Regions from separate parts of the Homo sapiens genome. Here all the other regions are linked to region 1. Evidence: promoter capture Hi-C in 16 types of primary human blood cells and fetal thymus (Javierre and others, 2016). All regions are on one chromosome and are shown on one strand. The core of a region is centred on a gene start or on the middle of the fragment in contact, and the rest is flanking DNA. Distances in the headings are between cores, read along the strand shown.

Region 1 (4,244 bases), core at 649-3,148:
GCCGAGATCGTGCCACTGCACTCCAGCCTGGGCGACAGGGTGAGACTTCATCTCAAAATAAATAAAAAATAAAATAAAATGTCATAAGCCAATTGCAAAATTTATTTTTTTAAATTTTTATTTATTTATTTTTTTTGAGACAGAGTCTCACTCTGTCGCCCAGGCTGGAGTGCAGTGGCTTGATCTCGGCTCACTGCAAGCTCCGCCTCCCAGGTTCACGCCATTCTCCTGCCTCAGCCTTCCCAGTAGCTGGGACTACAGGCACCCACCACCACGCCCGGCTAATTTTTTTGTATTTTTAGTAGAGACGGGGTTTCACCGTGTTAGCCAGGATGGTCTCGATCTCCTGACCTCGTGCTCCACCCGTCTCGGCCTCCCAAAGTGCTGTGATTACAGGTGTGAGCCACCGTGCCCGGCCGCCAATTGTAAAATTTATATAGTAAGGCAAAGACTCAAGAACAGCCGTGACACTTCTGAAGAACAAGGTGGGAAGACATGTCTTTCCAGATAAAGACTATTTTAATGCCATATAGTAATTAAGAGACAGTGATACTGGTAAAGGATAGCCAAACAGACCAATGGAATAGAGAGCCCAGAAACAGACCTTTGTATTAAGTGATGCTGTCTACTTGACAGAGGTGACCCGCAGATCAATGGGGAAAGGAAGTACTTTTCACTAATGGTAGAGGAAAAAGTATTTATTTGTCAATGCAAATTATTTATTAGTCTACCCAAGTGCAACCCTCCCAGCTAACGAAGCAATTTTCCTCTTGAGTCCAGGAAAGGTGATACTAGATAAGAACATGGTATTACCTTTAAAGTAGCCATAATATTGGAGGTGACGGTACATAAAGTCTTCATAAGGATCAGGAATAGTCTGTGAAAGGAAAGGCCACTTCAATCAAGATAATGTTTTCAAACCATAATAGACTCAACAAAAAGTACATGAGCGTTGTTGCATAGGACTAGACTAAACCAAGCGAGCTGCATTCCATGCGAATTATTCTATCGTGGGGATCAAGATCTCCAGCTGAGAAAAGATGCCACCAGAACATCCCTTCTCATCTAGTAGCAGATTTCTGTGGAGTTCCCGAAGAAATGGAGTTCCCCGAAGAAATTTCTGTGGCTTTCCGTGTTGTGTACCGACCTGCTTTAGGTGCGTTTCCAAAGCTGGGAACATGTTACTTCTGGATGGTAGGCTGAAAACTAGTCAGTGACATTAGCATCCAGTCGCAAACCCTGCCCAATTTCCAAATAGGCAGCTGATTACACAAGAGAAGCTACAAAGCCACAAGAGGACAAGTGAAAAAACTGCCAATACCTCCCCGGGCGCCCCCCAGCTCCCTCTTGACTTCAGAAAACCCTGCCAACCCAGCTTCTCCTCAGCTAAACAAGGTGGTCACGCCGAGGCCAGAGGTGCATCTGAGACAGGGAGGGCAGCGTATCTTCCCGCTTCTTCTTCCCAAGGTGCTGGCCCCATGCTTCCCTTTCCCTGAGAAAGGAGATGCTCGCCACAGGAAAGTGAAAGAAATGGGTATGGGAGCACGCGACGAAGTCGTCTCGGTAGGTGCCGATGGAAAAAGGTCAGGGGGTTGGGAAAGTGGGCCCTAAAGATTGAATTTAGGGTTCAGAGGAACCTGGTCTGGGGCAGGTGGTGAGGGGGTTTCCTAAGGGTAGGAGCGGGGAAGGAGAGCAGAAACTTCCCAGGAGGGCAGAGCGATGGATGCGACCGCCTTCGCGCCCCGGCCCGTCCCAAGCAGCACGGATGGCTGCGGCAGAGAAGCTCCAGCGAGGCAGGCGGCCACCGCACTTAAGTACAGAGGCCAAGCAGTGTGCGGGCAAGGGGACAAACTCGCTGCACCCGCCCGCCACCGCCTTCTGTGAGGGCCCGGGTAGTCTAGCAACCGAAAGCAGGAAGCGGAGAAAGGGCGGGGCGGTCGGGCGCTTCCGGGGAGCTAGGCCTCGCCCCCAAGGAGGGAGCGGGGACCCCGGGAAGGTCTGCAACATGTATGGCGGGCAGCGGCTTTCTTCCCCTCATACATCACAGCCCCAGCCTCGGAATCGAAACCGCATTGATGAGTACGATGCCAGTAGCCTTCAACATACTTCCAAGCTGGTTTGCTGTTGGCTTTAGATAACTGTTATGCATAATTTGCTCTAAGAGAGCTGCTGCTTCTCTCCTTTCACCTTAACATTCTCTCCACTGCACAGCTAGAAAGGAAAAATTACCTTCTACACTGCAAATCTTAAGAAACAGAGCTAACAAATTCAAATCACACATTTTGATTAGGTTTAAAAAAATCAATTATATGCATAGAAATTTACTCCAGGCCAGGCGCGGTGGCTCTCGCCTGTAATCCCAGAACTTTGGGAGGTCGAGAGTTGGAGACTAGCCTGACCAACATGGAAAAACCCCATCTCTACTAAAAATACAAAATTAGCTGGGTGTGGTGGCGCATGCCTGTAATCCCAGCTACTCGGGAGGCTGAGGCAGGAGAATCACTTGAACCTGGGAGGCGGAGGTTGCGGTGAGCCGAGATCGTGCCATTGCACTCCAGCCTGAGCAACAAGAGCGAAATTCTGTCTCCAGAAAAAAAAAAAACAAAAAACCAACAACAAAAAAATAAATATACTACAATAAAATTCAAACACGTGTCTTTGGTTAACTATATATGAATATAACCGTATCTGTTACTTTTATCAGTGGGGGGAAAAAAGCTATAAAGCACCTTTTTTTCTGAAATGTTAACCATATTACATCATTGCCAGGAATTAAGTAGGTAAAATATTATCTAATATGGCTATTAACCAATCTAGATATTATAGATAATATTAGACCCCAAAACTTTGATCACACAGCACCATCTGGGACTAGAAGCCTGTTTGTCTAAACTGGCCCCACCACTCCCCATTAAAGATCTCCTGCTCATTTTCTTGAAAGCTGTTGTTAAATGTTTGCACCTTGCATTGTATATGCTTAGAAAAAAAAACAAGTCCTGGTTACATAATCAGAATAACAGGAGTTGACGAGCAAAAGGATAACCCATCAGGATTATAAAAAAAGCTTTATTAGTGCATATATACAAATTTACAAGGTCAGAAACTGGAGAAATACAAAGAGCTTTAAAACACAATTTGCCGTTTCCTCAGTTTAAAGTGACTTTTACCTGATTGTGATACAACAGAAAGTACAGAACAGTAAACTGCTTTTTAAATACTGGAATTTTATGGAGAATACATTCACATAAAGAAAGGAGGTGAATTTTGTTTTGGAACAGGGTTAAGACAATGGAGACATTAATACATAGAGTGTCTTGTTGTATTTACTGCCACATACTTGAGGGGAAATTCTCAAAATCAAGGATATGAACACCTGCTGCTGCCTGTATGCCACCTAGTGTGCGAAACGACCGAGCTACCAGTTCTAGAACTTATGAGAACTACTCTAAAGAGTGTGGCCATCTATCAGCACGAGGTAAACCACTTAGACCTCAGCACTTCAGGGGTGGCCGACTAGAGAAAAGAGGCCAGAAAAAGCTTCAGACAATTCCAGTCAAGCAAGGTAGAATGCAGAGCTGCCTTCTGAATTGCACTTGTTCTGGAGGAGAAGTTAATTCTTCACTTTTGTCAGGGAGTCCTCTACAGAAGTGTTATACTCATGAGCCACATGTTCTTCAAGACTGATGAGGTTAATACACCTAACATGCTAAGTTTGCCAGTTTGAGAATAAAGGCAGCATGGTCAAAGCAATTCCAATCACCTCATCCCTTTGCAAAAACAGAAAAATTACATTTCACAAAAGTGAAAACTTTGTATGCATACACTCTTGCCCAGGAAATTTATAAGATCTCCCCCATAACATTTATAGTTTATTTGACAATAAAACTGGTTAAGACTTTGAACTGAACACAAAACAAACAATAATACAAAAAAGTTTTAAAAACTTAAAAACTATGTGTTTGGAGCCATTTTCCTTCTCTTCAGCCTTGCTCTCCAATCCTCAGGAAGGGCTTCAAAATTAGCATTTCTCTCTGCCATGCCACTGTGAAAACAACATACAGATTATTTTAGTGGAAAGAAAAATTAACAAAAGTATTCATTTCCCAGCAAATAAAAATCTAACTGAAATTAAAAACCTGATCTATCACGTCTATGTTTATGAAAATCTTTTGTTTCTCAGCCAAACATCAGTATATTCTTCATCAAACTTCTTCATTCTGATAGGTCAACCAAACACTACCCCA
Region 2 (4,237 bases), core at 470-2,969, 440 kb after region 1:
AAGCACAGGAAGGAATCCTTTTTTGTCTAATGGGTCTCTTTTCTCTTAAAACAGGAAAGATGCAAAGAATAATGAAGTGTCCTTTTCTCAAATTAAGTAAGTCTCTCAAATTATGAGCTTTATTTTAAATCCTCCAATCTGTTCGGTGACTATCTATAAATAATTTTTGATGGAACTTGCTGTCATTTTTCCTGATTGGCACATTTTGACCATGACCATCTGGAAGTTTTTGCTAGCTCTGTTTTCTGCAAGGAATCTATGTTTTATTAGTCTCCTGAAGCTGGCTTCCTTGTCATGTTCTACTCTTCTACCAATAAATACGGATTTCTTGATTAAAAAAACGTCAAATAGGTTATCAAGATCCAGGGGAGAGAAGAACTTACTTAAAGTCACAAAACCAATTAGTTACAAAGTAGGGTCTAGAAATCAGATTTCCTGAATCATATTTTAGTGTTTTGTGAATAATAGTACTCTGACCCCCTCTTGCCAAATTATACCCTGGGTTTTGTTGTTTTGGGAAGATTGTTTACTGTCATTTCTAGAGTATGAATGAGTCTTTCTAATTGCATATTTTTTCTTTCCCTTTCTATCATGAAGACCTAAAAAGTGAGTAATCTCTTTATTTTTTTTAATAACTTGTACTTTTCTATTGAATATGGACTTCACTGAATGTAAAAAATCCTGATAAGTTTTGTTTTCTTAGATCTAAGTTAATCAGAGTGGAGAATTTTGAGGCCTACTTCAAGAAGCAGCAAGCTGACTCCAACTGTGGGTTCGCAGAGGAATACGAAGTATGTTGCTGTAAATACTGTTTTTAATTGTGTCAGGTTCCAACCCAAGCTGGGATCTGAGGGGAGTTGGTGGATGGGTGGCAGGTAGCTGAAAGAACACTCGAGGGACTGTAGGCAGTTGGGACATGGCTTTATTCTCTCTCCTACAGAGTCAGCAGTGCAGTTATATTACTCACAGACAATAGTGGCTCAAAGCCAGGTATGAACTCACACAAACAGGTTACATTAAATGGCTATATAACGCAAGGGGTTGTTGCGCTCCAAACCCTTTGCGTCATACTGTCCTGGATGTCTACCTTGGACTACTCCTGACTGAAGCACAGCCACTTTCCTTAGAAATTGGCTTGTTTTTCCTGAAAGTTAGAAAACTGTTAACAGAAACTAGGAATTCAAGTCAGGGAACTGTTAGCCACAATACTTAGGAAGCTATATGAGCTGGAAAGAAACCAAATGGGCATGTAGAGGTCTGGGGCTTGATGGCAGTGTGGCCTAGGATGGCTTGTGAGGCTCACTTCTGAAGCCCTGCACAAGGAATTTCTTGGCCAGTGTCTGCCTTTCAGTTCCCCATGCTGTGCTCCAACCAGCCCAGGAACCAGCCCTGCTCAGAGTGACCATGCACACTCGTCCTCCTGTGCTGCCCTGTCCAGCATCTCTGCCTTTGCTCTCTTGAAATCCTGCTCAGCACTCAGCACAGTGCACATGCTGCTTCCTCCATGGGCATTCTGGGATCCCATTAGGAGGACTTGAGTTCTGTGTGCTCAGACTGCCTTGTTTCCCCTGTTGCTTGTTACCAATATTCAGCATTTCTTTAATTCTGCCTTTTTGTAATGTTAGTTTTTTCTGTGTACAGTACACCTCTCCTCCAGGTTGCAACTGCTTGAAGGCAAGGGTTATCCTTTTTCCTATATTCTAACCTTTGTATTAGTTCTCTAGGCTGCCATAAAAAAGCACCACAAACTGGGAGGCTGAAAACAACAGAAATTTACTGTCTAGAGGCCACAAGTCCCAAATTAAGGTGTGGGCAGGGTCACACTCCCTTCTAAACCTCTGGGCAGCGCCCTTCCTTGCCTCCGCAGCTTCTGGGAGCCCCAGGCGTCCCTTGGTTTTGTGGCAGCAACACTCTGATGTCTGCCTCTGTGTTCACATGGCCATCTCCCCTCATGTGTCTATGTCTCTTTGTCTCTTTTCCTCCTATAAGGACACTAGTCATATGGGATTCAGGGCCCACTCTAATCTAGTATGATCTCATTTTAATTTGTTTACATTTGTAAAGAGCCTTTTTTTTTTATACTTTAAGTTCTAGGATACATGAGCACAACATGCAGGTTTGTTACATATGTGTACATGTGCCATGTTGGTGTGCTGCACCCATTAACTCATCATTTACATTAGGTATATCTCCTAATGCTATCCCTCCCCCCACCCCATGACAGGCCCCGGTGTGTGATGTTCCCCTCCCTGTGTCCAAGTGTTCTCATTGTTCAATTCCCACCTATGAGTAAGAACATGCGGTGTTTGGTTTTCTGTCCTTGCGATCGTTTGCTGAGAATGATGGTTTCCAGCTTCATCCATGTCCCTACAAAGGACCTGAACTCATCCTTTTATGGCTGCATAGTATTCCATGGTGAATGTGTGCCACATTTTTCTTAGTCCAGTCTATCATTGATGGGCATTTCGGTTGGTTCCAAGTCTTTGCTATTGTGAATAGTGCTGCAATAAACATACATGTGCATGTGTCTTTATAGCAGCATGATTTATAATCCTTTGGGTATATACCCAGTAATGGGATGGCTGGGTCAAATGGTATTTCTAGTTTCATATCCTTGAGGAATCACCACATTGTCTTCCACAATGGTTGAACTAGTTTACAGTCCCAACAACAGTGTAAAAGTGTTGCTATTTCTCCACATCCTCTCCAGCACCTGTTGTTTCCTGACTTTTTAATGATTGCCATTCTAACTGGTGTGAGATGCTATCTCATTGTGGTTTTGATTTGCATTTCTCTGATGGCCAGCGATGATGAGCATTTTTTCATGTGTCTTTTGGCTGCATAAATGTCTTCTTTTGAGAAGTGTCTGTTCATATCCTTCGCCCACTTTTTGATGGGGTTGTTTGATTTTTTCTTGTAAATTTGTTTAAGTTCTTTGTAGTTTCTGGATATTAGCCCTTTGTCAGATGGGTAGATTGCAAAAATTTTCTCCCATTCTGTAGGTTGCCTGTTCACTCTGATGGTAGTTTCTTTTGCTGTGCAGAAGCTCTTTAGTTTAATTAGATCCAATTTGTCAATTTTGTCTTTTGTTGCCATTGCTTTTGGTGTTTTAGACGTAAAGTCCTTGCCCATGCCTATGTCCTGAATAGTATTGCCTAGGTTTTCTTCTAGGGTTTTTATGGTTTTAGGTCTGACATTTAAGTCTTTAATCCATCTTGAATTAATTTTTGTCAGTTTCAGCTTTCTACATATGGCTAGCCAGTTTTCCCAGCACCATTTATTAAATTGGGAATCCTTTCCCCATTGCTTGTTTTTGTCAGGTTTGTCAAAGATCAGATGGTTGTAGATGTGTGGTATTATTTCTGAGGGCTCTGTTCTGTTCCATTGGTCTATATCTCTGTTTTGGTACCAGTGCCATGCTCTTTTGGTTACTGTAGCCTTGTAGTATAGTTTGACGTCAGCTAGCATGATGCTTCCAGCTTTGTTCTTTTGGCTTAGGATTGTCTTGGCAGTGCAGGCTTGTAAAGAGCCTATTTCTAAATAAGATCCCACTCATAGGTATTGGGGGCGAGAAATCCAACATATCTTTTTGGGGCACAGTTTAACCCATATCACCTCTACATTTCCACTTTGTTCTTTTGCTACCAAAACACCACGGGTTTGGTCTAGGTCCTGCTCCTCACCTTTACAGAAAGCCAATCACTGAGATGACAAATATTGCCGGGGAAGAAAGCTTTAATCGGGTGCTGCAGCCAAGGAGATGGGAGCTGAATCTCAAATCCATCTCGCTGACTGACTAAAACCAGGGGTTTATACAGCAGGAAAGAAATGTAACAATGTGTAAGAAAACAGGAACTAGGGGCTGGGCATGGTGGCTCACGCCTGTAATCCCAGCACTTTGGGAGGCCAAGGTGGGTGGATCACGAGGTCAGGAGATCGAGACCATCCTGGCTAACATGGTGAAACCCCGTCTCTACTAAAAATACAAAAAATTAGCCAGGCGTGGTGGTGGGCGTCTGTAGTCCCAGCTACTCGGGAGGCTGAGGCAGGAGACCGCGCCACTGCACTCCAGCCTGGGCGACAGAGCGAGACTCTGTCTCAAAAAAAAAAAAAAAAAAAAAAAAAAGAAAACAGGAAGTAGGGAGGGGCAAGGAGGCATCTGGTGCAGTGATCTGACTAGTTTCAGTTCTTTGTTACTCCCTGAAGGTCCTTTCCTGAGAAAGGAACTCAGATAAAA
Region 3 (4,072 bases), core at 1,308-3,807, 400 kb after region 1:
AAGAGAGGACGGAAGGAACAAAGAGTCTATAAAACAACCAAATGGCAGTAGTAAGTTCTTACCTATCAATAATAACCTTGAAAGTAAAGGGTTTAAATTCTCCAATCAAAAGACATAGAGTGCGTGAATGGGTTAAAAAAAAAAACCGATCTCAATAGTATGCTGTCTACAAGAGACTCACCTCACCTGCAAGGACATGCCTAGACTGAAAGTGAAGGGATGGAAAAAGATACTCCATGCTAATGGAAATCTAAAGAGTGGCAGGAGTAGCTATACTTATGTCAGATAAAATAGACTTTAAGTTCAAAACTTTTAATGGAGACAACAAACATCATTTTATAATGATAAAGGGATCAATTCATCAAGAGGTCTTAACAATTATAAATATATATGCACCCAGCATTGGAATGCCTAAATATATAAAGCAAATATTAATGGATCTGAATGGACAGATTGACTGCAATGCATTCATAGTAGAGGACTTCCACCACCTTACTTCCAGCAATGGACAATGATCCAGACAGGAAATCAATAAGGAAGCATCAGACTTAAACTACAGTTTAGACCAAATGGATGTATCAGACATATACAGAACATTCCATCCAACAGCTGTAGAATACACACTTTTCAACTGCACCTGGAACATTCTCCAGGTAGATCATATGTTAGACCACAAAACAAGTGTTAACAGATTTAAGAAGTGTGAAATCATATCAAGTATCTTTTCTGATGATGGCATCAAACTAGAAATAAATAACAGGAGGAACTTAAGAAAATTCACAGATATATGGAAATTAAACAACATGCTCCTGAATAACTAATGGGTTGATGATGAAATTAAAAGGGAAACTAAAAAATATCTTGAGACAAACATCACTTCTTAAGCAATTTTGTTAACATATTTCTTTTTCTTCTTTAAAATGGTGCCATAACCTCCTTCATGAAATTGCTGTGAGACATAAATTAGAAAATGCTTGTACAGCCCCTGGTATAGGATCTGTCCCCAGGTCACTTACAGCAGGTCCCCAGCAGGGGTCATGCTGATCTTGCCATCTCCCACAGTAACTATTGTTAATTGTTTTGTCACAAATGCCCCTGAACAATCAATGGGTCAGTGAAGAAATTAAAAGGGACATTTAAAAATTTCTTGAAGCAAATGAAAATGGAAACACAATATACTAAAGCCTATGGGATACACCAAAAGCAGCCCTTCCAAGAAAGTTGACAGCAATAAACTCCTACATCAAAAAAGAAAGCTCCCTGGGCACAGTGGCTCGTGCCTGTAATCCCAGAACTTTGGGAGGCCGAGATGGGCGGATCACTTGAGGTCAGGAGTTCGAGACCAGCCTGGCCAACATGGTGAAACCCCGTCTCTACTAAAAATACAAAAATTAGCTGGGTGTAGTGACACACACCTGTAATCCCAGCTACTAGGAAGGCTGAGGCAGGAGAATTGCTTGAACCCAGAGGGCAGAGATTGCAGTGAGCCGAGATCGCACCACTGCACTCCAGCCTGGGCAACAGAGCAAGATTCTGTCTCAAAAAAAAAAAAAAAAAAAAAAAAAAAAAAAAAAAGCAAGCTCATACCTCCAGCCTGGGTTTTGAGAGCCTGTCTGAAAAAAACAAAACAAAACCCTCAAGTAAATAACCTAATGTAGCACGTTAAGGAACTAGAAAAATAAGAACAAACTAATCTTCAAATTAGTAAAAGGAACAAAATAATAAAGGTCAAAGCTGAAATAAATGAAATAGGCACTAGAAAAACAATAGAAAAGATCAATAAACTAAGTTGTTTTTTTGAAAACAAAGAACATTGACAAAGCTTTAGCTAGACTAAGAAAAAAGAGACGCTACTCAAATAAGAAAATCAGAAATGAGACATTATAAACTGATACCACAGAAATACAAAGGAACAATTATGAACAATTATATGCCAACAAATTGGATAACCTAGAAGAAATGGATAAATTCCTTGCCATATACCATTTACTATGATTGAATTATGAAGAAATAGAAAATCTGAATAATCCAATAATGAGTTAGGAGATTGAATCAGTAATAGACCATCTCCCATTTCTATTTATTACTGTTGTTATTCTAAGAGACAGTGACTCCCTCTGTCACCCAGGCTGGAGTACAGTGGTGTGATCATAGATCACTGTAAGTTGAACTCCTGGGCTGAAATGATCCTTCTGCCTTAGCCTCTCAAGTAGCTGTGGCTATTGGTGTGCACCACTACATCCAGCTAACTTTTAAAATTTTTTTGTAGAGATGGGGTCTCACTGTGTTGCCCAGGCTGCTCTTGAACTCCCAGCCTCAAGTGACCCCCACCACCTTGGCCTCCCGAAGTGCTGAGATTACAGGTGTGAGCCACCCAGTCCTCTGCCAAACCTTTAAAGAAGATCTAATGACAGTTCTTCTCAATTGCTTCCAAAAATTGAGGAGGAGAGAATACTTCCAAACTCATTTAACAAGAGCAGTATTACCTTGATACGAAAACCAGACAAGGATACAACCCAAAACACTATAGGCCAAGATGCAAAAATCTTTAACCAAATACTAGCAAACCTAATTTAACAGCATATTAAAGAGATCATTCACCATGATCAACTGGGATTCTTCCTAGAAATACAAAAAGGGTTCAACCTGTGCAAAACAATAAATGTGCTACACCATATTAACAGAATGGAGGACAGAAACCATACAATCATTTCAGTAGATGCAGAAAAAACATTTGACCAAAAAATATTGTTAACTGTGCTTTCTTTTCTGAACTTAAGAACTTGCTTTTCCAAAACCTTCCCAGAATCCCTGTATGAATCAACAAAATTTAGTTCTTAACACATTTCTCCTTCTTTAAAATGGTGACATTAGCTGGGCATGATGGTGTGTGCCTTTAATCCCAGCTACTTGGGAGGCTGAGGCAGGAGAATCGCCTGAACCCGGGAGGCAGAGGTTGCAGTGAGCCAAGATCACGCCACTACACTCCAGTCTGGGTGACGAGCAAGACTTCGTCTCAAAAAAAAAAAAAAAAAAAAAAGAAATAATGGTGCCATACCTTTCTCATGAAGTTGTTGTGAGGCATAAATGAGAACATACTTGTACAGCATCTGGGACATGGACGGCCTCTCAAAAGGAGTGCTGCTGTTCTTGCTACCTGCACCACTGTAACTGATGTTGTTTCATCATCCTCGTCACCATCATTGTTATTGATTGTAAATGGAAGCACAGTGGTCATCTTCCAAATATGCCACTCTGACTCTGTGAACTTGTCACTTTATAAAGAGGAAATTCAAGCTTGGAGGGGCCTTCTGGCATGACGTTTATTGAATTGTGGGGCACAAGATGCTTCCCTGCTTGTTCCATTTTCCTTTCTCTTGTTTATTCTCCTGCCTTATTTATTTATTTTTTCTTTTGAGACAGAGTCTTGCTCTGTTGCCCAGGCTGGAGTGCAGTGGTGTGATCTTGGTTCACTGCAAACTCTGCCTCCTGGGTTCAAGTGATTCTCCTGCCTCAGCTTCCCGAGTAGCTGGGATCACAGGTGGCTGCCACCATGCCCAATTAATTTTTGTATTTTTGGTAGAGACGGGGTTTCACCATGTTGGCCAGGCTGGTGTCGAACTCCTGACCTCAAGTGATCTGATCTGCCTGCCTCAGCCTCCCAAAGTGCTGGGATTACAGGCATGAGCCAGTGTGCCTGGCTTCCTGCAGTTTTTTTATTGATTGGATGAATGTTTGTATATCCCATGAGCCAGATGAGGCACACTGTCCATGCACATAGCAAGATGGTAACACTTACACCATCTTTACTCTTTTGGGATTAGTCCCAAGCTCCTTGAGAATGACTGCCGTATCACCTGGGTTTTACTCTTCGGTTTCTGGTTGTTACTCCTCAGTCTTCAGCTCAATTAGGATGCATCCATTTGGTAGTTTTACAGTTAGTAACCCTGATGGCTTCCACTGGTTTACGATCTTGTACATCTAAGATGATGAAACTAAGGTTCAGAGAGGTGAGATGACTTTGAGTAAAATTGCATGGTGAGCAACTAGCAGAATTGGACCCTGAAACCAG
Region 4 (3,994 bases), core at 172-2,671, 440 kb before region 1:
TGAGCATGGTTAACTAGACAGTCTATGTGGTAGTTTTACATCAAGCTGAATGTAGATTGTTGAAACAGAATAATTAAGTTTCCATCTAGACCTAGAAGTGCAGGTTAGTGCTAGCTAGTTGAGGAGTCTGGTTTGATCCTGATCCACCCTGGAGGGATCCTGAGAGTGACTTCAATTTTTGTTACAATGACTGAGTCCAGATTAGATGGCCTAGGTCTGTTTTTCAGAAACAGAGCCCCAGGCGTTAAGCTGGAAATTAAGTCATTGGTAGGGATAGGTAGGTGAACCATTATTTATCTACATTTTTTTTTTTTTCTTGAGACGGAGTCTCACTCTGTCACCCAGGCTCGAGTGCAGTGGTGCGATCTCAGCTCACCACAGCCTCCACCTCCTGGGTTCAAGCGATTCTCATGCCTCAGACTCCCGAGTAGCTGGGATTACAGATGTGTGCCACCACACCCGGCTAATTTTTTTGTATTTTTAGTAGAGATGGGGTTTTGCCATGTTGGCCAGCTGGTCTCAAACTCCTGACCTCAGGTGATCCGCCTCGGCCTCCCAGAGTTCTGGGATTACAGGCGTGAGCCACCATGCCTGGCCTATCTATTTTTTAACATTCGATTCTGTGAGCTCATGAGCCTAGACACGAGGCTAGGCAAGCGTCAAGTTCTCCTATCATTAGTATGAAAGTGGAAGACCTTCTGACCTCTGCCTCTGGCCGGGAAGAAGTTGAGAGGGATGAGTCCCTTAGGCACAGCAGTGGATCTTATCAGTACTTTTTTTCCTATTAGACTTCGATTTTCAGAATTCCTCCTGGGAATGCTGACTCCTTGCTTGGTGCCCTGATGCTTCTCTGAGATAAACTGATGAATTGGAACCATGGTGCAAAAGAAGAAGTTCTGTCCTCGGTTACTTGACTATCTAGTGATCGTAGGGGCCAGGTAACCAAGAAGAGATTGACTTTTGTCTTAATATCTGGGATAGCCATAAAATCTGCAGTTGTTCCCTTCTCCGATTTCCATGTTGCTTTGCATAGCTCATCTTCTCCTGTTATTTTACCCTGATGGGAGCATCGAAGCCAGTAGGGAAAAAACAAAATCAGGTGGATTGAAAGCAAAACCCTGCTCTTAACTAACATCTTCTTGATGTCGAGCAAATATACTCTTTATACCTCAGTTTTCTTATTTTGTAAAAAGAAAAAGTACATTATAAGCTACTCCTCTATGTATACTTTTTTGGTAATTTATTAGTTAATTCACTTTAAAAGATGTTAATCATCTTAAGGTGCCAGTGATAATTTTATTGTCAAAATCTCCCCTTCGTTTCAGAATAGATGCCTTCATGACAGTGTAGACTTCACTTAGGTTACCAGCTCCATGCGGCAGGCAGCACCCATATTTTCCAAGGTGTTACAGTCAGGTTACTTTATCCAAAATAGCATCTTGAGCTTTATTTGTTGACTGTGGTTAAAATTTGATAGCCCATTCCATCCCTTCAGGCTGCTGAATTTGTCTTTATGTTCTTCAGGCACCCGAGCAGTGATAGCGTGGCCCAGACTCCTGAATTGCTACGGCGATACCCCTTGGAGGATCACACTGAGTTTCCCCTGCCCCCAGATGTAGTGTTCTTCTGCCAGCCCGAGGGCTGCCTGAGCGTGCGGCAGCGGCGCATGAGCCTTCGGGATGATACCTCTTTTGTCTTCACCCTCACTGACAAGGACACTGGAGTCACGCGATATGGCATCTGTGTTAACTTCTACCGCTCCTTCCAAAAGCGAATCTCTAAGGAGAAGGGGGAAGGTGGGGCAGGGTCCCGTGGGAAGGAAGGAACCCATGCCACCTGTGCCTCAGAAGAGGGTGGCACTGAGAGCTCAGAGAGTGGCTCATCCCTGCAGCCTCTCAGTGCTGACTCTACCCCTGATGTGAACCAGTCTCCTCGGGGCAAACGCCGGGCCAAGGCGGGGAGCCGCTCCCGCAACAGTACTCTCACGTCCCTGTGCGTGCTCAGCCACTACCCTTTCTTCTCCACCTTCCGAGAGTGTTTGTATACTCTCAAGCGCCTGGTGGACTGCTGTAGTGAGCGCCTTCTGGGCAAGAAACTGGGCATCCCTCGAGGCGTACAAAGGTACAGTTTGCTGCTGATGCCTAATGGGGGAAGCATTTAGAGATTCCATGTAATTGGTCTTTGAGGGGCATAGGAAATTTCCTCTACAGCTCAAGGTCCTTCAGACCTATTAAGCATATTTAGAGTATTTAGAGTTAATCTTTTTTCTTTTGGAGACAGTCTCGCTCTGTTGCCCAGGCTGGAGTACAGTGGTGCGATCTCGGCTCACTGCAACCCCTGCCTCCTGGGTTCAAGTGATCCTTCTGCCTCAGCCTCCCGAGTAGCTGGGATTACAGGTGCACGCCACCATGACCAGCTAATTTTGGTATTTTTGTAGAGACAAGGTTTCGCCATGTTGGCCAGGCTGGTCTCAAACTCCTCACCTCAGGTGGTCCACCCACGTTGGCCTCCCAAAGTGCTGGGATTATAGGCGTGAGCATCATCCCCAGCCAAGAGTTAATCTTTACTAAGCAAAAGACTGCTGCAGAGTTAGACCTCTTTCCAAAATTGTGTTTGGAGTAATGCTGGAATTTGGTGTTTTAACTGTGGTTAGGACAGTAAGTCTTACCCAGTATATATCTTTACATTTGCTTTTGCCATTGTATATACTTTCCGGTCCTATCTGAGCTCAGAGACTGGGCTTTCTTAATGATGCTCCGTTTCCCATTGTCATCATTAGAGCCTCTGTGGTGATACTGAGTTGCAGTAGGGTATCAGCTTCTGATGCTAATGTGTCTGATTCCTGCTGTCTGCTTCTCAGGGACACCATGTGGCGGATCTTTACTGGATCGCTGCTGGTAGAGGAGAAGTCAAGTGCCCTTCTGCATGACCTTCGAGAGATTGAGGCCTGGATCTATCGATTGCTGCGCTCCCCAGTACCCGTCTCTGGGCAGAAGCGAGTAGACATCGAGGTCCTACCCCAAGAGCTCCAGCCAGCTCTGACCTTTGCTCTTCCAGACCCATCTCGATTCACCCTAGTGGATTTCCCACTGCACCTTCCCTTGGAACTTCTAGGTGTGGACGCCTGTCTCCAGGTGCTAACCTGCATTCTGTTAGAGCACAAGGTGAGAGGCAAGCTTCCTAGACCTTTCTAGGGGAGAAACTCTTAAATATGCCAGTGGCCAGACCACGAGCTCTTAGAGGACAGGGACTACATATTTTTCACCTTTTTGTCTTCAGGAGGTAACATGATGCCTGGTAAACAGCAGGTGTTCCGTAGATGTGGGTTGAATTAAGATACTGGTATCATGTGGGATGTATTTAGAGGGTTTACCATTCATTAGGGCTTATCCTTAATTGTACTGACCTAATTCTTTGGAAATATCAGTAGTTCTGTTTCAGTGAGTGGTCCTGGGATGGGCAGTACAAGAACTAGGAAGGTAAGGGAGTGATTTGCATATCTCAGGTGACTGAGGATCACCATTGTGCCTGGATTGGGAGGTGGCAGGCATGGTGGGGCAGGGGGCAGTGGGAGAGACAAAGCTGGAGCTGTAGGCTCGATGAAGTGGAAACCAAGTTGTAATGTTGGAAGCTGTTTTCTTGTAAACCATATTTTATGTTTTGGAGTGATTCTTACTGGATGGCTCATGACAGGTGGTGCTACAGTCCCGAGACTACAATGCACTCTCCATGTCTGTGATGGCATTCGTGGCAATGATCTACCCACTGGAGTATATGTTTCCTGTCATCCCGCTGCTACCCACCTGCATGGCATCAGCAGAGCAGGTGAGTCTCAAGGCGACTTCCGGCTTTCTCACCTCTGTCTTCCTGAGGGAGGAGGCTTAATGCTCAAAGAAGTTGTAAGTGAGTGCTGGTCCTCAATCCTTTGTCATAACTTATTTGTCTACAAAATCTGACTGATTTGAACTGATCTGGTGGCAAGGCTTATGCTATT
Region 5 (3,914 bases), core at 1,307-3,806, 420 kb before region 1:
GTGACATGGGAAACTGTTTAACAAAGCTACCTATAGTGTGACTCCAATTTTATTTTTAAAATGTATTGAGAAAAAACTGAAAGGAAATATACTAAAAACAGTGGTTAACGTGGGAGGTAGATTTACAGCTTGTTCTTATTTCCTTATTCTTTCATGTATTTTCTACAGTGAGCATGTACTTCTTTAACGCATTGTTTTTTGTTTTTTTGTTTTTTTTTTTGAGACAGGGTCTCATTCTGTCGCTGCAGCTGGAGAGCAGTGGTGTGCTCTCTGCTCACTGCAGCCTCAAACTCCTGGGCTCAAGTGATGCTCCCACCTCAGCGTCCTGAGCATCTGGGACCGCAGGCACCCACCACCATGCCTGGCTAAGTTTGTGTATTTTTTGTAGAGATGGGGTTTCGCCATGTTGCCCAGCCTGGTCTCCAACTCCTGGGCTGAAATGATCCTCCCACCTCAGCCTCCCAAAGTGCTAGGACTACAGGCGTGAGCCACTGTGCCCGGCCTATTTCTTTTTTTTATTACATAAGTTGTACATATTTTATATTCTGGAAACAAAAGTTGCTCGTGACTTCTCTAAGGATGATAACAGAAGGGTGGGGATGAGGAGAAAGAAAAAGGTACAGTATTTCTGTGGGAAACTGAGAGGAGATTGGACACCTCCCCTAATGTTCCTGTGTCTTGTTTCAGAGGACTGATCAAGACTCTGTCATCGGCGTGAGTCCAGCTGTTATGATCCGCAGCTCAAGTCAGGATTCTGAAGTTAGCACCGTGGTAGGGGAACACCACACTGGCATCTTGGTGGGTGGGGTGTGGATTTCCCCTTTGGAAAAGGGTGCTACTTTCTCTTTGGAGGCTGCTCTGAGTCTCAGGTCAGCATGGTTCTCATGGTGGAGATGTTTACCATCATAGGTGTGTGTATACGAGATTTCACCCAGAGCTTCTCATCTTATAAAGAAGGTACTTCCAGAGGCTATCTGACACACTTTTGAAATTTAATACTTTTTTATGGTGGCAGGGAGCTCTAACAGCTTGGTATTTCTGGGGCCCATCCCTGGGGACTGTCTCTTACTACCTTTTTTCCTTTCCAGGTGAGTAATAGCTCTGGAGAGACCCTTGGAGCTGACAGTGACTTGAGCAGCAATGCAGGTGATGGACCAGGTGGCGAGGGCAGTGTTCACCTGGCAAGCTCTCGGGGCACTTTGTCTGATAGTGAAATTGAGACCAACTCTGCCACAAGCACCATCTTTGTAAGCTTTGTTTATTAACAAAAGAAAACCATTTCTTTAATGGGGGAGGGAAGCAGGCAAGAAAAGAATGAAAGTTAAGAGACGCTAAAGAGGTAAAGGTTAAATAAGGAAGAGGTAATCTTCTTATATTTGGCTTTAAGGAAAACATTTCTTAAGGCTTTGTTCAGAGTCATTTGACTCACAATCTGGGGCTTTTAGAACCCTCTCCTGAATCATTGATGAGTTAGGCTCCGTGCCCAGTCACGTAAGGGCTTTGAATCCTATGTAGTATTAACCCCCAGGTTTAACACAGGCAAAGTAATACCTTTGTGGCAATGTCAGGACAATTACAGCTCTCGTTTAGTACCAGTCTGCCTATTTCTATGGACTATCCAGTTTTATTTTGGTCACTGCTCTATTTATAAATAAAATAGCATTTTATTTTAGTATATTCCTAACAGTTATTTGAAGTTTTCATTCATTAATAAACATCCATGAAGTGATTTACTAAGTGCCAGATTTTGTGCTAAAGAAACAGGGATGAAAAAGGCATGGTTTCTACTCAAGAAGTTTGTGATTCACTATATTGCTGTGAGTAGTCTCTTCTAATAGGTGAGGGGAACAATGCCTTAGGAAAAAAGAACTTCCCTAGATCACACAGTAAGCCCATGATCAGCTGGAAGGAGATGAATTCTTTTTAGTCCTTGCCGTAGACATCTGTTTTTTGTTGTTTTTTTTTTTTTTTTTTTTTACACAGGGTCTCACTCTGTTGCCCAGGCTGGAGTGTAGTGGCACAGTCACTGCTCAACTGCTCACTGCAGCTTTGACCTGTTAGGCTCAAGTGATCCTCCCACCTCAGCCTCCCAAGTAGCTGGGACTGCAGGCATACACCACCATGCCTGGCTAATTTTTTAGTTTTTTGTAGAGATGGGGTTTCCCTCTGTTGTCTAGGCCAGTCTCAAACTCCTGGGTTAAGTGAGCCTCCTGCCTTGGCCTCTTAAAGTGGCATGAGCCACTGTGCCCAGCCTCTGCTTTTTAATGTGTATGTGCCTCTATAGGCTGTGTTAAAACACTGATAGACTTGTTACTTTATTAAACAGAGATGAGAATGGATGTTCTCTACAAGAGCTTATACGCATAGGTCCTTATCTTTAAGGCCTATGGGGAGAAAGGAAGATAAAAGTTAAATGAAACCAACTATTTAAAACTGGTTATCATTCCCACCCCCAGAGCCTTCTGTATGTGTGTTTTTAATAGAGTCAGTGACCTCCCAGAGTGGAGATTGGGAATAGGACTGAGAGGCTACTCAAGTTAATGGGCCTTAACTCTCTCTCAGTCTGAACAGACTGATTGGCTGATTGAGTGATTGATTTTTCTTTTGTGCTGACAGTTTATTAGGGGTTTTCTTTTCTTTTCTTTTTTTTTTTTTTGAGATGGAGTCTCGCTGTGTCACCCAGGCTGGAGTGCAGTGGTGCGATCTCGGCTCACGGCAAGCTCCGCCTCCTGGGTTCACACTCTTCTCTTGCCTCAGCCTCCCAAGTAGCTGGGACTACGGGTGCCCGCCACCACGCCCAGCTAATTTTTTGTATTTTTAGTGGAGATGGGGTTTCACCATGTTAGCCAGGACGGTCTTGATCTCCTGACTTCGTGATCTGCTCGCCTTGGCCTACCAAAGTGCTGGGATTACAGGCGTGAGCCACTGCTCCCGGCCAAGGGTTTTCAATAATGTTTTCTTTTCTTTTCTTTCTTTCTTTCTTTTTTTTTTTTTTTTTGAGATAGAATCTTGCTCTGTCGCCCAGGCTGGAGTGCAGTGGCGCGATCTCTGCTCACTGCAATCTCCACCTCCCAGGTTCACACCATTCTCCTTCCTCAGCCTCCCGAGTAGCTGGGACTACAGGCGCCCACCACCATGCCCGGCTAATTTTTTGTATTTTTAGGAGAGATGGGGTTTCACCGTGTTAGCCAGGATGGTATCAATCTCCTGACCTTGTGATCTGCCCACCTCGGCCTCCCAAAATGCTGGGATTACAGGCATGAGCCACCGCGCCCGGCCTTCTTTACATATTAGTTCAACCTTCACCACAAAATCTAACCATGGATCGTAAAAATTAAATTGGCAACGGGGCTAGCCTGCTATACTTCCTGTTTACTTTTAGATGCTTTTCAAACCAATAAGGATGACATTTGTGGTGGAAGGAGCCAGAGTAATAGGAAAATTACTTCTCTTCGCTTAGAAGAAAATCCTCCACCTTGAGCATCTTCTGAACTTTTTACTATAAGACATCTCAGTGCTTGCTTGTACTCTTCAGCCGCATAACTGTGAAGATAGCAACCATCAGTTTCTCATAAATGGAAGCGGCAGTGAGAACCGTCTACAGCAGTTTGGCTTCAAGGCCTGTGTAGAGGCCCATTATTCCAAAACACCTGTTAGCCATTTGTATGTCTTCTTTTGAGAGAGATCTATTCAGCTCATTTGCCCATTTTTAAATAGATTATTTGTGTTTTTTTGCTGTTGAGTTTTTTCTTTCTTGTATATTCTGGCTATTAATCCCTTGTCAGATGAATAGTTTGTAAATATTTTCTCCCATTCTGCAGACTGTCTCTTCACTCATTTCATCGTGTCCTTTGTTGTGTAGAAGCTTTTTAGTTTAATATAATCCTGTTTTTGCTTTTGCTTTTGTTGCCTGT

Evidence for each region. The method cuts DNA at HindIII sites, captures the fragments that hold promoters and counts their contacts. A CHiCAGO score of 5 or more calls a contact.
Region 2: a fragment that was not itself captured here is called in contact with the fragment with the promoter of AGBL2 in region 1 in 1 of 17 cell types (total B cells); the score reaches 5.4 in total B cells.
Region 3: a fragment that was not itself captured here is called in contact with the fragment with the promoter of AGBL2 in region 1 in 2 of 17 cell types (naive B cells and total B cells); the score reaches 9.2 in naive B cells.
Region 4: a fragment that was not itself captured here is called in contact with the fragment with the promoter of AGBL2 in region 1 in 1 of 17 cell types (activated CD4 T cells); the score reaches 5.2 in activated CD4 T cells.
Region 5: a fragment that was not itself captured here is called in contact with the fragment with the promoter of AGBL2 in region 1 in 3 of 17 cell types (megakaryocytes, activated CD4 T cells and monocytes); the score reaches 8.3 in megakaryocytes.

What each region holds. Positions count from the first base shown.
Region 1 is chr11:47,713,471-47,717,714 of GRCh38, forward strand. It overlaps AGBL2 (AGBL carboxypeptidase 2), which reads right to left and starts at 1,899. Exons shown (of 19, transcript NM_024783.4): 1 at 1,705-1,899; 2 at 1,148-1,280; 3 at 814-877. The coding sequence starts at 1,180. FNBP4 (formin binding protein 4) reads right to left here. Exons shown (of 17, transcript NM_015308.5): 17 at 3,024-4,042. The coding sequence ends at 3,952. RefSeq lists an enhancer at 1,577-1,636. The HindIII fragment of the contact is 6,151 bases long and covers 1-3,062 here.
Region 2 is chr11:48,149,393-48,153,629 of GRCh38, forward strand. It overlaps PTPRJ (protein tyrosine phosphatase receptor type J), which reads left to right. Exons shown (of 25, transcript NM_002843.4): 16 at 55-96; 17 at 598-606; 18 at 704-791. Among named protein-coding and RNA genes, the nearest start is that of MIR3161, 55 kb to the left of the region's middle. The HindIII fragment of the contact is 4,023 bases long and covers 1-3,731 here.
Region 3 is chr11:48,116,001-48,120,072 of GRCh38, forward strand. All of the region lies in intron 3 of PTPRJ (protein tyrosine phosphatase receptor type J), which reads left to right. Among named protein-coding and RNA genes, the nearest start is that of MIR3161, 21 kb to the left of the region's middle. The HindIII fragment of the contact is 1,475 bases long and covers 1,821-3,295 here.
Region 4 is chr11:47,273,039-47,277,032 of GRCh38, forward strand. MADD (MAP kinase activating death domain) reads left to right here. Exons shown (of 37, transcript NM_001376571.1): 2 at 789-938; 3 at 1,525-2,121; 4 at 2,861-3,164; 5 at 3,694-3,825. The coding sequence starts at 877. Among named protein-coding and RNA genes, the nearest start is that of MADD-AS1, 2.9 kb to the left of the region's middle. The HindIII fragment of the contact is 3,506 bases long and covers 1-3,174 here.
Region 5 is chr11:47,294,809-47,298,722 of GRCh38, forward strand. It overlaps MADD (MAP kinase activating death domain), which reads left to right. Exons shown (of 37, transcript NM_001376571.1): 23 at 688-771; 24 at 1,089-1,247. Among named protein-coding and RNA genes, the nearest start is that of MADD-AS1, 25 kb to the left of the region's middle. The HindIII fragment of the contact is 2,613 bases long and covers 1,251-3,863 here.